2 separate regions of the Homo sapiens genome follow, and region 1 is linked to region 2. The links are contacts of gene promoters, found by promoter capture Hi-C in human tissues and cell types (Jung and others, 2019). All regions are on one chromosome and are shown on one strand. Each heading gives the region's core, a stretch centred on a gene start or on the middle of the fragment in contact. The rest is flanking DNA. Distances are from core to core; before and after follow the strand shown. Region 1 has its middle 33 kb from the start of MIR4483. Region 2 holds the start of PLEKHS1 (pleckstrin homology domain containing S1).

Region 1 (2,700 bases), core at 77-2,576, 60 kb before region 2:
CCACTTTGTATTTCTGGTAGAATTCAGCTGTGAATCTGTCTGGCCCTGGACTTTTTTGGTTGATAGGCTATTAATTACTGCCTCAATTTCAGAGCTTCTTATTGCTCTATTCAGAGATTTGACTTCTTCCTGGTTTAGTCTTGTTAGGGTGTATATATACAGGAATTTATCCATTTCTTCTAGATTTTCTAGTTTATTTGCATTATAGTATTCTCTGGTGGTAGTTTGTATTTCTGTGGGGTCAGTAGTGATATCCCCTTTATCACTTTTTATTGTGTCTATCTGATTCTTCTCTCTCTTCTTTATTAGTCTACTGGTGGTCTATCTATTTTGTTAATTTTTTCAAAAGACAGCTCCTAGATTCATTTGATTTTTTGGAGGGATTTTCATGTCTCTATCTCCTTCAATTCTTCTCTGATCTTAGTTATTTCTTGTCTTCTGCTAGCTTTTGGATTAGTTTGCTCTTGCCTTTCTAGGTCTTTTAATTGTGATGTTGGGTGTCCATTTAAGATATTTCTAGCTTTCTGATGTGGGTATTTAGTGCTATAAATTTCCCTCTTAACACTGCTTTAACTGTGTCCCATAGATTCTTGTACGTTGTCTCTTTGTTCTCATTGGTTTCAAATAACTTCTTGATTTCTGCCTTAATTTCATTATTTACCCAGGATTCATTCAGGAGCAGGTTGTTCAATTTCCATGAAATTGTGTGGTTTTGAGTGAGTTTCTTAATCTTGAGTTCTAATTTGATTGTACTGTGGTCTGAGAGACTGTTTGTTATGATTTCAGTTCTTTTGCATTTGCTGAGGAGTGTTTTACTTGCAATTATGTGGTTGGTTTTAGAATAAGTGCTATGTGGCACTTAGAAGAATGTATATTCTGTTGATTGGGGGTAGAGAGTTCTGTAGATGTCTACTAGGTCCACTTGATCCAGAGCCGAGTTAAAGTCCTGAATATCCGGTGGTGTGGGTTCACAAGTGGGCTCTTCTGATCTGTGGGTTGCACAGTTCCGTGAGAAAAGCACAGTTTTCCCTGCTGGGCAGCACGCTCACTCACTGCCTCCCTTGGCTGGGGGGAGGGGGTTCCCCTTCCCTGTGTGGCTCTCAGGTGGGCTGCCACACCACACTGCTCTTCCTTCCCTCTGTGGGTCACACCAGCTTCTAGTCAATTTTGATGAGAGAACCTGGATACCTTGGTTGTCAGTGAAGGATTCACACGCTTATTATGTTTTTTCCCAATGGGAGCCTGCAAATGCTGCTGCTTCTAGTCAGCCATCTTGGCCCTGTCCCCGGGCCATAGATATGATCACACAACTTCTAATTATTTAGTATTCTTTGAAAAGAGATATTGCTTAATCAGCCAGTATAGTAATGAAAGCTGTTGACTTAGTGTTCAGAGACTATAATTTAGGTAGGCCTGGTTCTGCCACTAACTTTGTGACACTGGGCAACTTAGTCCACTATCCTGCATCTCAGTTTCCTCCACTAGAATGAGAAGTAATTGATCTTAGGTCCTGCCTGGAAGATTCTATGAGTCTGTTAGCTTCATTGCTATTTTTTTTTTTCAAAGTATTGCATGGTTTGCCAGGGCTTGGACATGATCATATTTTTCAAGCTAATTATCACAATGGATGTATGCTATAATATTAAGATATGTCAGGTGAGAAAATGTTTTGAGCTAATATGTTTATTTTACTTATTAATATGTATTTATCTAATGCTTTTTGATATAATATATAAACAGCAGAACTGGCTGGGTGTAGTGGCTATGAGTTCAAGACCAGCCTGACCAACATGGTGAAACCCTGTCTCTACTAAAAATACACAAATTAGCTGGGCGTGGTGGTGCACACCTGTAGTCCCAGCTACTCAGGAGGCTGAGGCAGGAGGATCACTTGAACCGGGAGGCGGAGGTTGCAGTGAGCTGAAATCATGCCTTTGCACTCCAGCCTGGGCAACAGAGTAAGACTCTGTCTCAAAAATAAAAAGATAAAAAATAAAACAGCAGAACTTCCCCCAGCTTGGGTTTGGGGCCTGGAGGTACAACAGTGGAAGAATCAATCCCTCATGGTGGTGTAAAGTGTAAAATGGTTGTATTAACCATAAAATGAGGCAGTGAGCTGACAGCAACAGAGCAGCCCAGTAGTAAGTGAGTGAAAGAGTTTAGAGAGCACGGCACACTAACTCTTCAGCACTCCCAGGGTGAGCACACAGGCACTGAGCACATCCATCAATACAGATTATTCATTCTGACTAGCAATGTGTTGATACAAATACTTGGTGAAACCTATGTATCTTACATCAGTTGCCAAACAATGGCTTACAGTTCAGAACTGCAGTTTCCAGATTCAAGTTAGTGGTGTAACACATGAACAGCCTTTTAGCAGCCTATGGAATGTCTTTGGTGATTCCTGTTGGACAATAAACACACCGCAGTATCTGCTCCTCCCCTGCACGTAGAATAAATTGATGGCCCAAGAGACATGAACAGAAAGGATACATTTGAAGGTTTCATGTGGCTTTAGGGAGAATCGGAAGTTGAAACCTATAGAAGCTGAGTGACCCTGAGTAAGAACTGCTCATCTCCTACTCACAGGAGAGCGCTCTTTCATGCCATTCCCTGCCATGTACTCCAGATACCTTCTTTAGTCGTAGGAGAGCCAGGTTCCCAGATGGAAAATGGGTTAATTCCCTATCTGGCAAG
Region 2 (2,700 bases), core at 201-2,700:
TTTAAAGCAGTGTTTACTGCAAGCTGTTTTTGAGCTGCTGTTTGTCAAAAAGCCAAAAAATCATTTTAAAAAATATTTCTAAAGCCTTTAAAGTTTATAAAATGCATTTGCATACATTATTTTTTTGTGTTCAGAATGGCTTCATTCTGAGATAGCTCATTTTACAAATGAAAAGCTGCATTTGAGAGAAGACTGAGATGACTTGGACCTAGGTCCCCTGGCAGAACTCCACACAGCACCACATTCATGCTCATGGACACTCCCAAATAACATTTGCCCTCCCTGTGCCCTGTGGATGTCAAAGTGTGCTTTGGAGGACATCTCTGTCCTTCCAGTGTCTGCAAAGGGCTCCAGAGTCATGTGCTGCAACCATTCCTCCTTCATCTCCCCACCCACCGTAAAATGAGAGGACAGATAAGGCAGTAGGGTGTGGTGGTTTAGAGTGTTAGCTCTGGCATCTGGGTTTAAATTTCATCTCCATGAATTATGAGGAATGTGATCTTGGATACTTTATAATACTTCTCTACACCTCCATTTCTTCATCTGTAACATGAAGGTTATTACTACCCTCATCAGATTGCTGGGAGTATCACTTGAGATACCCTGTTGATGAGCACTCCTCAGTACATAATAGAAGCTCAATAAATGCTAGTTGTTAGGTCCTTTCCAGCTCAGATATTCTATGATTCTATGGTTGTTTAATAATGGGTAGCATTTTTTGAGTACTTAATACATTCCAGGCACTTCTAAGCAATATGTATATGAAAGATTTTATGTATATGTATACATATAATTTCACATATACATATAAAATCTCATCCTAACCTCATAACCGTACTCTAAAGCTTGCACTGTTTTCACAATGATACAATGCCCATTTACAGACGAGGAAATGGTTATCGGAGAGATTAAACAACTTTACTTTGATCATGTAATTAAAAAGAAGCAGAACCAGAATTCTAGCTTGAGAGCTGGCCTTAACTACTTTGCTTTTCCTCCTATCTAAGAAAGTAGAATTAAGTCTTTTCATAGTTCTGCTTGTTTTTCTTGTCATTGCCCCCAAACAAAAAAGAAAGCCTTTCTGATTTAGCTGTTTGATCTCATTCAGGAGAATCTCCCCACAGTCACTGCCTGACCCATTTATTATAACATTATTTTGGATTTGGTGAATACAGTATACCAAGAGGTCAGTCCTATTTCCCTCTGACTATAGTATAGCCTAGGAAGCTTATGAAGAAAGTGCCCATAACAGAAATACAGCATATCTGCAAAATTTTCCATTTCCAATTTTGCAATTGTTCAATTGCAAAAAAGCTTCTAGATCATCCCAGCCTTGGAAGTCCAAACCAGATACACCAAGCAGTACTTACTGGAAGCCAAGAGGTCGCTGGTCCAGTGCTCAGGAAAGTGCCTTGTCCCGAGGATTCCTGAACTCACTCCTGCTGACTCTGAGCCTTGGTGCCTGGGTGAGGATTAAGCACAAACTCTGCTTGAAATCTGAACCACCAGGAAGTTCCCAAACTAATATCCTTGAGCAGATTTTATTCTTGCCCCAAACTGAAATGGAAGCTATGCCCTCAGGGGAAGTTCTGGGCCTTCATACTTGTGGCTTGCCACAGAACTCTCCTTGGTGTCCCAGCTGCCTAGCACCAAAAATGAAAGCAAACACATTAATAATAAAAAAAAATTCCTGCCAGACTTTGGACCATGGTCACAATAACCCTTATTGAGAACAACGCCAATTTACCCTCAACCGTCTGTGGTGACTACCATTGAAAAAAAATCCCTATGCCTCCCTCAGCCATATCTTAACCAATGTCTTCCTGGGAAGGGTAGAAAGGGTTCCTTTGTACCAGATGAGGAAACAAAAGCCTGGCTTCTCTAAACACTTGTACATGCCAATGGTTTCCAGGAAGAGTTGCTCATTCAGCCATGACAGAGTGTTACCATCAACAGGGTGGCGCTAGGCATGTTCCCCTGCACAGCCACCAACAGCAATTGAGCAAACCATCATTCTTAGACCTGGTGAGTGGTATCCAGCCACCAAAGGGTCTTAGGTATATTTTCATGTGTATTACAGATTTCTAGGGGAGAGGAAGAAGTGATGATGAATTTTATCCTGTTCTACTGCCTTTAGAAGTAAAAGTACATCATTTGAATCCTCATCCTCACGAGGGTAGCTGGTCTGGAATCAGCTCTGCCATGGATCCATTGTGTGGTCTTGGCAAGTTAACTGGAGTTCTCTGAGTCTGTTTCCTCATCTGCAAAATGGAACAGATAATACTGACTTCACAGGATTTTTTTTTAAAGTTAAGTAAAATTTCACATATAAAAAGCATCTAGCACAGTGCTTTATCCACAGTTAGCATTCAACAGAGGGTATTTCTTTGTTTTTCTCTTTTGCATCCTATGGAGGGTAGATGTTATTGGTTTCTTCATTTAGCAAACCTAGCTGGACTTCAGGCATACAGAAATTATTGATATATTGTTTGCTTCCTGCACAGGACCAGTTTTGCTTGATTTAGGAAAAACAATTTCTTAATTTTGATATAGTTTGGATGTCCCCTCCAAATCTCATGTTGAGATGTAATCCCCAGTGATGGAGGTGGAGTCTGGCTGGAGGTGTTGGGTCCTGGGGGTGGATCCCTCATGGCTTGGTTCTGTGTCTGAGATAGTGAGTTGTACTGAGGTCTTTATTTA

The links. Contacts are between HindIII fragments. The study calls those that stand out against the background at their distance.
Region 1: a fragment that was not itself captured here is called in contact with the fragment with the promoter of PLEKHS1 in region 2 in 1 of the 25 tissues and cell types used here (aorta).

What each region holds. Positions count from the first base shown.
Region 1 is chr10:113,809,966-113,812,665 of GRCh38, reverse strand. No RefSeq gene overlaps it. Among named protein-coding and RNA genes, the nearest start is that of MIR4483, 33 kb to the right of the region's middle. The HindIII fragment of the contact is 8,663 bases long and covers 1-2,700 here.
Region 2 is chr10:113,750,432-113,753,131 of GRCh38, reverse strand. It overlaps PLEKHS1 (pleckstrin homology domain containing S1), which reads right to left and starts at 1,450. Exons shown (of 13, transcript NM_001395068.1): 1 at 1,371-1,450. The HindIII fragment of the contact is 5,664 bases long and covers 1,037-2,700 here.